2 separate regions of the Homo sapiens genome follow, and region 2 is linked to region 1. The links are contacts of gene promoters, found by promoter capture Hi-C in blood cells and fetal thymus (Javierre and others, 2016). All regions are on one chromosome and are shown on one strand. The core of a region is centred on a gene start or on the middle of the fragment in contact, and the rest is flanking DNA. Distances in the headings are between cores, read along the strand shown. Region 1 holds the start of SPTY2D1 (SPT2 chromatin protein domain containing 1). Region 2 overlaps TSG101 (tumor susceptibility 101).

Evidence for each region. Contacts are between HindIII fragments. The CHiCAGO score rates a contact against its expected background, and 5 or more counts as called.
Region 2: a fragment that was not itself captured here is called in contact with the fragment with the promoter of SPTY2D1 in region 1 in 1 of 17 cell types (neutrophils); the score reaches 5.1 in neutrophils.

The regions. Positions count from the first base shown.
Region 1 is chr11:18,629,718-18,636,089 of GRCh38, reverse strand. It overlaps SPTY2D1 (SPT2 chromatin protein domain containing 1), which reads left to right and starts at 1,748. Exons shown (of 6, transcript NM_194285.3): 1 at 1,748-1,892. The coding sequence starts at 1,833. It overlaps LOC105376578 (a long non-coding RNA gene), which reads right to left and starts at 1,741. Exons shown (of 2, transcript XR_931097.3): 1 at 1,129-1,741; 2 at 97-210. RefSeq lists an enhancer at 1,258-1,527 and a silencer at 2,584-2,763. The HindIII fragment of the contact is 3,460 bases long and covers 1-3,052 here.
Region 2 is chr11:18,489,873-18,495,794 of GRCh38, reverse strand. The region is part of intron 7 of TSG101 (tumor susceptibility 101); the gene reads left to right. It also overlaps the pseudogene YWHABP2. Among named protein-coding and RNA genes, the nearest start is that of TSG101, 34 kb to the left of the region's middle. The HindIII fragment of the contact is 2,344 bases long and covers 1,921-4,264 here.

The DNA of each region.
Region 1 (6,372 bases), core at 499-2,998:
CTTCCTTGAGAAATGATGGTTGGCATTAATTGAAAACACCATATGCCAGTGTATTCGTTTGCTAGGGCTGCCAATAACAAAGTACCACAGACTAGGTGGCCTAAACAACAGACATTTATTGTCTTAACAATTCTGGTGGCTAGAATTCCATGATCAAGGTGTGGTTACCTTGAGGTCTCTCTCCTTGGTTTGTACATGGCTGTCTTCTCCCTGTGTTTTCACAAAACGATGTAGGAAAGAAAGGCTAATCTATAATCAGAGGAACAAACGCAGCTGCCTGTTATGTAGCTCAGGTTCCATAATAACATTCTTTTAAGGCGCAAAATAACTTAAAGTTCCAACAGCTTTGATTTTGAATTACGTTCGCAGCATTAAACCATCAAAGAGTAAGAGCCAGCAGCTTTGTCTAGCATGTTTTTTGTTTTTTTTTTTTGAGACGGAGTCTCGCTCTGTCGCCCAGGCTGGAGTGCAGTGGCGGGATCTCGGCTCACTGCAAGCTCCGCCTCCCGGGTTCACGCCATTCTCCTGCCTCAGCCTCCCAAGTAGCTGGGACTACAGGCGCCCGCCACTACGCCCGGCTAATTTTTTGTATTTTTAGTAGAGACGGGGTTTCACCGTTTTAGCCGGGATGGTCTCGATCTCCTGACCTCGTGATCCGCCCGCCTCGGCCTCCCAAAGTGCTGGGATTACAGGCGTGAGCCACCGCGCTCGGCCTGTCTAGCATGTTTTAACAGCTTGACATATTTACATACTGTATCATTCTCACCCGTCTTAAGTGTACGATTTTTAGTACATGTATAGTGCAACCATCCCCACAATCCAGTTTGGAGGCATTTCCATCCCACCGAAAAGATCCCGAGTACCTGTTTGCTATCAATCCCCTGGCGGGTTCCCACTTGCAGACCCAGGTTTGCCTAATTATTTTCAGTGTTTTTGCTAAGTCGAAATGACCTTACAGATCCAAGATAACTCTCCAAAAGAAGTCAGGACTAGGATCCCAATGAATATGAATATGAAGCATATGTTCATCAGTACACCAAAGTTATGTCAAGGCTGGGTCTGTATGTGAAATTCCTTAATCCATTGCCTGAGCAAAAACACAGGTTGGCTGCTCCACATAAAACTTACTTTCTAAACGGGGCAAAAGAAGTAAGCGCGTGCCCCCATCCCCGGCACGCGTGCATCTGAGTAGGAGGTAAGCGCACGGCATGTGGCCGAATTTGATGAGTAATGGGCATCCAAGACAGGACCACGGCGCTGCTGTGTGCGCCTGCGCAGCTTCGCGAGCGCCTAGACACAAGTAGCCCAAACCCCGGCTCGAGATCCGTCTGTTCAGCTGTTGTGGCGCCGCCGTTTTGGATCTAAGCGCCTACCCGTGACACCCAGAGAACCCAGGCCTGGCAAGTAAACCCTCTACCCCCTCACTTTCTCTACCCAGCGCTCACAAGGAGCAACAAGATGACAAGACCGCGCGCCCGGGCCACCAGGGAAGCCGCTCTCTCGCTTAGCCACACCCCCTTGGTTGCTAAAATGCCTAGTCCCTGCCCCTCGGGTCGACGCCAGCAGCCACGTATCACGTTTGTACGTGTCTCGGCCTAAAAGCGGAAGTTACGCAGGGACTCGCGAGCGCTGTGGCGGCCCTGAAAGGATATAGGCCGTGGAGGGAAGGGGGCGGGCAGACGGCATAGGAAGGCGCCGGAAGTGGTCCCGCAGAGGCGGGGTGGGAGTGGGGCTCCCGAGGCAGTGCAGTTGGCTGTAGCTGGGCGCCTCGGTTAGGTGCGCTGTCAGTCCTTTCCGAGTGCCTGGCCCAGTCTCTCCCGCCTCGGCCCAACATGGACTTCAGAGAAATTCTCATGATAGCTTCCAAGGGACAAGGTGTCAACAATGTGCCGGTAAGTAGCAGCTGGGGCATCAATGTAGGGGACCCTAGTCTTCCAAGTTCGGAATGTGTGTGGCCCATGGAACTTCTGGGCAGCCGCCTATCGGCTCCGGGAGAGGAAAGACCCGGACGCCTTATTTCCTTTTCTTGGGTTTATACTCTTGGGAACTCGGGAGAAAAGAGCTTGGGACGAGACGCGGGAGCCTTCCTGTGAATGGGTTTCGCCGGCTTATTTACCCCTGCAACAGGGACTTTGCGGTTTGGGTGTTGTAGCTAGAATTGCGTGAAAGCCGTGAGTGAGCTGTGCCTGGCACGCTGTGGATTCTAGCGCTGGTAGTTTTTGGCTTCCACATAAACTTCAGCCTAGAGATTGGGAAGGAAATATGTATGTAAGGGAGTTAGGGGGTTTGGGGTCCTTGGCTTGATAGCTTTTTGGCTGGCTTCTCATCGATCTTCAAGTCAAACGTTTAGCGATTTCTTGAAAGAATTCTCTGACTCGGCCCCACCCACTCAGCCACCGAGGTGATTAAATTATCACCTCCCAGGGGATAGGTATCATCTTTTGGGAAGAGAAGTTTAGCAGATTCCACGAAATCCTTGGCCAACAGAATAGGTGAGCTAGTTTCAGCTTCTGTTTACTTGTAGCCTTCCAGATTTCAGTCTTTGTTTAAAATCTAGGTCCCATTTGGTCAGTAGATGTTTGTCAGTTCGCTTACAGTCGCAAGAGCGGTGTAAGACTTAAATGGTAAAGTGGTGGAGAGCGCCTGGTTTCTGGGGGTTATGGCTGTTTTGCATAAGCTAATCATTTCCAGATTTTCAGATGGTACCCACAGCACAGCTGTAAACCGATAAGTTGCATGGTGATGCCTGCGGTTTGAGCAGTGAGGTATAGAACTAAAACGGCTCTCAAAGTCAATTCAGCTAGAATTTATTGAGCTCCGACGAAGTGCTCTGCATTTCCTAGATATTCGTATATTGCAATATTCGTTTTTTTCTCTTCTGCAGCTTTTTTTTGTCTTCTGAGGCTAGTTCATTCTTTTATCCCTTTGAAAATATTGATCTGAAAAAGGTCTATATTTATGTTTATAAATATATGTATATATACACACACACAGCCATCCCTTATCCCAAGAACTCTGAATAACCATTCCTCTAAGCCGTGAGTCATAAGCTTTGCATGTTGAAGGTATAGACTCAAACCTTTGAAACCCAGATCAACAGATTTACTTTCTAGAAGCATCTGTAAATTTTCCAGATGAATCAATATTGGGTCTAGTAACCATTCATCTTTGCATAATTTGGTCTGTATTTCATTCTAGATCTTATTGAATTTCAGTAAAGGTCAAAGATAGTACTAGCTTTGATGCCCAGTACTGTTCTGTGGAAGAATCAGAACTAAGTCATTTCTTATTCTGAAAGCCAGTAGCTGCTGGGAGAAAAGCAGACAGATAATCCTAAAGCAGAAAATTTCAAAATATGTGTATATGTCATAATATATGCATTATCTATGATTGGAATAACAGAAGAATCAAAAAGGGGAAAAAAGTAATTTAAAATTTAATAGATGGGCGCAATGGCTCAGGCCTGTAATCCCAGCACTTTGGGAGGCCTAGGCGGGAGAATCACCTGAAGTCAGGAGTTTGAGACCAGCCTGACAAATATGATGAAACCCCATCTCTACTAAAAATACAAAAATTAGCCGGGCATGGTGGTGTGCGCCTGTAATCCCAGCTACTTGGGAGGCTGAGACAGAATTGCTTGAACCCAGGAGGCGGAGATTGCAGTGAGCTGAGATCGTGCGATTGCACTCCAGCCTGGGCAACAAGAGAAAAACTTCATTTCAAAAAAAAAAAAATCAATAGATAATATAGCCATATATTTTATGAATCATGCATTCTCTGACCTCTCCCCGCCAAAGCTAGTAAGCCTAGAAGTTTGATTTAGTTACCAGCATTATAATTCTTATCTTTTTATGTGGAATTAAAGTCACAAAAGAAACTATTGAGGAATAGGATAAGACTGTAGTTAAATTTCTTCTTCTTCTTTTTTTTTTTTTTTAAGATAGAGTCTCACTCTGTCGTCCGGGCTGGAGGCTGGAGTGCAGTGGCATGGTCTCGGCTCACTGCAGCCTCCACCTGCTGAGTTCAAGCAATTCTCCTGTCTCAGCCTCTTGAGTAACTGGGACTACAGGCACCTGTCACCACATCAAGCTAACTTTTGTATTTTTGGTAGAGACAGGGTTTCACCATGTTGGCCAGGCTGGTCTTGAACTCCTTCCTCAAGTCATTCGCCCACCTCGGCTTCCCAAAGTGCTGAAATTACAGGTGTGAGCCACCACACCCGGCCAAATTTCATGCTTTACTTGATTTGCTTTAACTTGATTCATCTAACTGTTCTATTTACTTTTTCCTTATCAGCTTAAAGTAATTTGGACACTTTCAAACATAAGGAATGTTAACACATTTCTAATATACCCAAACCCCGTATTTAGCATATTAACATTTCCCCATATTTATTCCATCTATTTTAAAAGAAATAAAGCTTTTTTTCTTTTTTTGCCATCTATTTTAAAAGAAATAAAGTGTTTGGTGGTTTTTTTTTTTTTTTTGTTATCTATTTTAAAAGAAATAAAGCTTTTTCTTTTCTTTTCTTTTTTTTGAGATGGAGTCTCTGTTGCCCAGGCTGGAGTGCAGTGGCGAAATCTTGGCTCACTGCAAGCTCCGCCTCGCAGGTTCAAGCCATTCTCCTGCCTCAGCCTCCTGAGTAGCTGGGAATACAGGGGTGCACCACCACGCCCAGTTAATTTTTTTGTATTTTTAGTAGAGATAGGGCTGGTATCAAACTCCTGGCCTCAAGTGATCAGCCCACCTCAGCCTCCCAGACTGCTGTGAGTACAGGTGTGAACCACTGAGCCAGGCCTGTCTTGAAATGTTTCTTGACTTCGATGGTAGCTTAAAAGGATACTTGCTTTCTAATAATCTGTTACCCTGTACACTATGTCTATGATTTTCACAATTATTAAAAACAAAGAGAGAGTTGGGGACTATCGTATCAATTAACAGCTTTATTTCTGGCTGGGTGCTGTGGCTCACACCTTTAATCCCAGCACTTTGGGAGGCCAAGGTGGGCAGATCACCTGAGATCAGGAGTTTGAGACCAGCCTGGCCAATGTGGTGAAACCCCGTCTCTACTAAAAATGCAAAAATTAGCCAGGCATGGTGGGGCACACCTGTAATCTCAGCTACTCAGGAGGCTGAGGCAGGAGAATGGCTTGAACTTGAGAGGCGGAGGTTGCAGTAAGACAGAGGTTGCAGTGAGTGGAGATCGTGCCACTGCACTCCAGCCGGGGTGACAGAGCGAGACTCTGTCTCAAATGAAAAGAAAAATAAAATAAAATAAAAAAAGACAGCTACATCCCTCCCTGCCCTATACACACCCTGCTGTTATAAATTTACTTGATTAATTGATCTGAGAACCACAGAGGCTTTGCAATAACTAACTAGGCTGCATCTCTCTCTATTGATTGGTTCATTTTTCCCTGTTCGCCAACTTCTTCTCCCACCTTCATTTGGAACCTATCAGAGCTAATGCTCAGAATTTCAGTCTTCAGAGTTCTTGGGTCAGACCTTTACTATGGTAAGGAAATCCAGTGACTAGCGATGATTAGACTAAAATCCAAACACCTGTACAGCCACTTCAGCCTTTCAGACTCTTTGCAGAGCTTTTTGTTGTTATTTTGAGACGAGTCTCGTTCTGTCACCAGGCTGGAGTGCAGTGGCGCTATCTCTGCTCACTGCAGCCTCCACCTTCTGGGTTCAAGCGATTCTCCTGCCTCAGCCTCCCAAGTAGCTGGGATTACAGGCGCATGCCACCACACCCAGCTAATTTTTGTATTTTTAGTAGAGATGGGGTTTCACCATGTTGGTCAGGATGGTCTCAATCTCCTGAGCTCGTGATCCACCTGCCTCGGCCTCCCAAAGTGCTGGGATTACAGGCATGAGCCACCATGCCCGGCCAGAGCTTTATTTTTATTTTTATTTTTTGAGACAGAGTCTTCCTCTGTCACCAGGCTGAAGTGCAGTGGCATGGTCTTGGCTCACTGTAACCTCCGCCTCCTGGGTTCAAGCCATTCTCTTGGCTTAGCCTTCCGAGTAGCTGGGATTACAGGCACCCACCACCACGCCCAGCTAATTTTTGTATTTTTAGTAGAGATGGGGTTTCACCATGTTGGCCAGGATGGTCTCGATCTCCTGACCTTGTGATCCACCCACCTTGACCTCCCAAAGTGCTGGGATTACAGGCGTGAGCCACCGTGCCCGGCAGAGCTTTATTTTTTAAAGCTACCTATTGTATCTGTCTTGAGAAGCTATGAGTATTTCCCTAATCATCATTTTTTTGTTTCTTAATTTTTAACAAATAGTTTTTTATGTTAAAGGTAGGATTGCATCAGGCCCAGAAATAGTAGGCACACTGTCATTTCCCAGTGGAAAACT
Region 2 (5,922 bases), core at 1,843-4,342, 140 kb after region 1:
GAGTGCTATAGACATCTTCAACCTCAGTTTACATAGTGTTTTGAAAACTAACTAGGGGAATGAGGAGGTGGTAGTCGGTGAATAATGAAGGAACAAACCAATTCATGTAGCAAAAAAAAAAAAAAAAACCTAACTGGTAGTATGCATTGAAACTTAACACAAAGATTCTTTTTCCTGTTACTGTAGGAGCAAAACATAAACTGACTATACCTATCTTAATCAGTTTCACATACAAGATCCCTGAAAAATAGTGGGTATGGATGGGCACCAGGTGAGCCACCATGAAGTTTCTCTACCACAACCACCACCCCTGCCCCTGGTAAAAAAAGAGGAAGTTAAAAGGCTTTGGTGATTCCTTACTCCAGTCTCAGCAGTGGTGAAAGTTCTCTTTTGAAGGTTGACTTATTTTAAAAAGCTATATAGATGATTGTAGTTGATTTATAGCTCTGAATCCTAGGCTTTAGGCCTTTAACATATACACAGTTTGACCTTTCAGTAGTTGCAGTTTAATAATAGTAAAATTGAAGAGTAGGTGTTTATTCCCGGTTAAAGCCAATACCTACCACAGAATTTTTCTTGGTAAAACTTCATAAATACTGTATATTTCAACCTCTGAGTTTTAAAAATGTCATTTTAAGATTTTGTTCCTAAAAATCAAATAAACAAGGATCAGAAACAGTAAGTTTGGAAGGGTGCTATTAACAGAGATTCAGGGACCAGTTTTACCTTTGTTAAAGTGTTGTTTAAAAATGTGGGAGTGGAAAACCCTGAAAATGCTGCAGCTGAATGATGTGTTTCTGTAGTTTCCACTCTTTAGTCCATACTGAATATTTAGATAAAGAAAGGAAAAGGTGAAGAAAAATAAGAGAGCTTACCTGTTAATATTTCTTTGAGGACAGAAGCTAGTAAACATGACAAGTTTTTCTTGACTGTCTTATCCAATGCTGTTCTTCCCTCTGGCCATCCTAGATTAAGTGTTTGGCCTACAGAAACTGTACTTTCAGGATATGGCACCCAAGGCACCCAGCCCATGTGGGTTTACTAGTGCACGCTTGCTTGTGTGCAGGTTTGGGTGCCTCTTCCCCACACCTTTCACAGACTTCCTTTGGGAATAACTGCCTCATCTTCAGGATAAGTAGCGTTTTCTTCCAATCCTGGACAGTCAGTGAGTCATGAGTGAAATTTAAATGCTGAGAGTTTAGTCTGCTAAATGTTAAATCCTTTTCTGCCAAAGCAATAATGATAACAGAAATAATGATAACAGAAATTCAAAGCAATAATGATAGATTTGAAAGCTTTTAAAAAAGCTATTGTGTAAGTTAACAAATGATTTTTATTTTGTTAGTAAAGGAAAGGTAGGAGAAGCTGATTCATTTGGCTTCCTGTCGTTATTCCTATAGAATACCTCTAACATAATAGATTCTTAAATTAGTCTTTTCACAAAACGTTAATTTTAATGGAATTACTTTGATTCTGATTCATTTTTTTAAGAATAGAATTTTAACTCTCCTTCAGATTTATTGGCTTTTGTGCTTATGCCTACCAGGTAGCATCTTTCATCTTTTATGACTTACTATGATAGCTGAATGATTTTGTCACACTGTTTCTTTTTTGGAGTAGTTATTATTTTGCTGTCTCATTTTAGCAAGACTTATACCTACTTACCTTCACTTTTGAAAACTTTAATTTTTATGTAAATGAATTTAAACTTTTTTTGTGGTGTGTGTTTATTTTCAAGAAGTGTAAACCTGCTGATAGCTTTCTTTAAATTTTTTCTTATTGATTGTGTTGATAGAAACTTTCTAGAGCTCAAGTAAAGCGCATTTTTCTGAGTGTTTAAAAGATAAATTGAGGCCCCCTAATTTCTTTGGAAGAAAAGCTCCATAGCCTGCACAAAGCCTGTAAGTAGTATTAGAAGCTTACATATTCATACACTATAAATAAAAAGGACTTTTGTAAGCCATGTAATGGATTTGCAGTGTTTGCACTTAATAGCACAGATCAGAACTCCTTTGCTCATACAGTTGTCTGAAATGTTCTTCCTTCTTCAGAGATAGACCTGTTTTTTGTTTTTTATTATGAAAGAAAAATAATCCTCATATGTTCTCGGTCTAGTTTCTAAATAGATGGTCAGTAAGCTACTGTGTGGGATTACTTGGGCTCCATAGTTTGCTGTGTAGCACAGATGCCAGACCTAGGACCATTATGTGGGCCTGAGCAAGTAACATCCAGGAGTAAAAATGCTGGGCAGGTAGTTTACTTTTGCTGATTAAGGGTGAGGTCAGAAAAATTATCGTTGAGTTATAGTTTACTTTGGGCTTATGGATTCTTTCTCTAATATAAAATAGCTTCATTTGAGTTCCAGGAAGTAGTGATCGTTTGTAAATACTCTTAGGAGATAAATGAAACCGGGTGTCTTAAGTGTTTAAATAGTGGCTTTAAATCAGGTAGTGTATACTAGTGCACTGTGAATATACTTGCATAAATTATTCAATGAATTTTTGGGTCCATTGAGTGTAGAGTGTTGGTTTCCTAATACTAGAAAAATTATATCTTATTTCCTAAGGATTAAGTTTGGAGATCAGATCCTACCTGACATTTAAAGGAAGTTTTGCTTAAGATTGTTACTCAAAGTCTGTTAGCTCTTCAACTGCTAATCTGGAATTGTAGAAGGGCACTTTTGAAATCTGACTCTGCTTGAGTAAAAAGGTCAGTGTGTTGGGGACTTGGGGTATGGCAGTTTGCCAAAAACTCTTCTTATTCTTGTTATAGCAGGTATAGAGAATATTCAAATTTCTTCTAAGATGTTTGAGAAGAAAGTTTGGTTTGGTAAGTGTTCACAAAGTAGATGAGAATCTTCCACCAAATCTTTTTTCTTATTTGTTTGCATAAACATTATCTTAAAGTGGCATGGTTCATCGAATTTTGAACTTTGATGAGTTTTTCTTTTACTTCTTTGAAAAACTCTGGGTTTTTCTTTTTTTACTTTCTTATTTCAGATCTTAGTTATAATTCCTTTTTTTTTTTTTACAAAGTAGTTCGATTTTTTAAAGTTTAGATATACTTCACAGTGAAGTCTATGTGTGATAGAGATAAGACTAGGTCTAATCTTGGTGTTTGTAACTTCCTCAGGTGAACTGTGACCTTTATAGGCCAAGCGACTGCTGCCTCGGCTTGGTTCTTATTTTGAGGGTTAATGACTTTGGCTGGAAAGTCTTGGCAAGGACTTATTTGGTGGTATTATGGTAGCATTTGCCTGAACATATTCTATAAAGAGAAACAGAATGTAAATTCCAGGATTTAAATGTGTGTTTTTAAAAATAAGGATTTAAAAATTTAGCATCAGTATAATTTGACCCATTAGACCAGATATAATAGCTTTAACAAAGTATGTTGATGTGTTTATGTGTGAAAAATTCACTAACTATAAAAAGACTCTTAAGTTTTCATTAGTTCTGATAACTTCTGTGCCAATGAATGGAATACCACCACTGTTGCATGTGATTGAATGCTTAATTATAGACATATCATTTAGGTACGTAATCTATGGGAGAAGGATTTTCCTTCCTGTCTCACAAGAACCATCATAATATTTCATATAGATTATAAGACAGGTTCTTCTAGAAAGGTTTTAAAATTCCTTTTGCTAATGCAGCCTTACTATAAACTGGGGACTTAATGAAATCTTCAATAGTCATCATATCATGAATCATCCTTTGGATATGAAATTCTAAACCAAACTCTTGTAGAAATTGGCTCTTTTTCACTTTCTTTAAAGGACTTTTTAAGTACAGTATAAGAAATTAGAGATTTTTATTCGGTCTAAATTCTGTCCAGATGACTGAACAGCTAAGACTTTAATTCATATTAAGTCTGTGAAAGAGAGCTCACTCTCTGACGTATTTTAATCTGTATGTTCAGTGAGTGTGGAAAGATGTGTTGCCTTTTTATATGGCCTCATTTGAAGTAGACCGACTTATTCTACAAATTGCCATGAAGAGCAAGTTCTTGATTAGGTAAGAAAATACTCTTTAGTTAAGGACCTGTAAAGTTTGGAAGTTCACAAAACCACCTGCACTTCTGACACTCATTGCAAGTTCATGGTTTCCCAAGGCCACCCTAAAGTTCTATAATTATCTAGAAGGACTTTAAAAGCTCACTGAAAGCTATTATACTCACAGTTATGACTTATGGCAAAAGATACAGATTAAAATAGGCTGAGGAAAGACACGTGGGCAACCCAGAAAGTTTCAAGTGCAAAGCTTCTAGTTGTCTTCTCCCAGTGGAGTCATAGGCAGTGCTGACTTTTCCCAGTAACAGTATGTATCATTATGCATGGAGTATTACCCACCAAGGTAGCTCACCTGAGCCTTGGGTCTAGAGTTTTTATCAGGACTTGGTCATATAGACACCATTGACTGCCTGTGAGGCTGACCTTTAGTCTCCAGCTCCTCCAGAGGTTGAGCTGTTACCTATCACTGCATGGCCCAGACCCCCCCATAAATCACACTGTTAGACTGTCTGGTGTAGATAAAGAACACTCTAATTAGTCAGGAAGTTCTGAGGGCTTAGACATCACCTCCAGGAGCCAAGGGCAAAGGCGTGGCCTCTCTGGGTAAAGTTAATTCTTTACTACACAGAACCAAGCTGTAAGGCATTTTGCCTTATTTTGCTTGAACTTTAAAAATATCCGAATACAGGAGCTGCTGCTACCGTCGCTGCAGCCACGGCAGGCACCGCCACCGCTGCCAGAGGAGTGGGCTTGGGAAAGAAGTGGTCACCTCACTTGGAGCTTTGCTCAGAAGCATCCTCGTCCCCTGCAGCCCTCCCACGGGAACGACTGGATAAAAGTGAGCTGGTACAGAAAGCCAACTCACTGAGCAGGCTGAGCGCTATGATGATATGGCTGTAGTCACGAAGGCAGTCACAGAACGAGGCATGAATACTCCAACGAAGAGAGAAATCTGCTCTCTGTTGCCTACAAGAACATGGTTGGTGCCCGCTGCTTTCCTGGCATGTCTTCTCCAGCATTGAGCAGAAAACAGAGGAATGAGAAACAGCAGCAGATGGGGAGAGAGTAGCATGAGAAGATAGAGGCAGAACTGCAGGACATCTGCAATGACGTTCTGGAGCTGTTGGACAAATATCTTGTTCTCAATTCTATACAACCATTTTCTATTTGAAAATGAAAGGAGATTATTTTAGGTATTTTTCTGAAGTGGCATCTGGAGACAACAAACAAACCACTGTGTGGAATTCCCAGCAGGCTTACCAGGAAGCATTTGAAATTAGTAAGAAAGAAGAAATGCAGCCTACACATCCAGTTTGACTTGGTCTGGCACTTAATTTCTCAGTCTTTTACTATGAGATTCTAAACTCTACTGAAAAGGCCTGCAGCCTGGCAAAAACAGTATTTGATGAAGCAATTACTGAATTGGATACACTGAATGAAGAGTCTTATAAAGACAGCACTCTGATCATGCAATTACTTGGGACAGTGTTACTCTGTGGACATCGGAAAACCAGGAAGATGAAGGAGATGCTGGGGAGGGAGAGAAGTAATGTTTCTTGTGCTTTGTAATCTGTTCAATGTCACTCTGTACCCTCCACGTATATCCCTTGTGTGGTAAAAAATAATTGTATGTTGACTTTGGATTTTTCACAGCCTCAGCCTAGCAAAAATGGTTCATGGGATAAACAGCTGGTGTTTGTATTCTAAAACTCAGATTGGTCACATAAATGCCACGGCATTCTGAAGTTTTGATTTTGATTAACATTGACAGGATTACTGTGTGTTTAATTTTTTTTAATTCAACACTGTGATTATGGGGTTTTGTAATTTAGCAAAACTCTTACTTGTAGAAAAAATAGACCTGAATTATGTGTAACTTTTTGGAAAGTTTAATCTGATACCAGAATCAT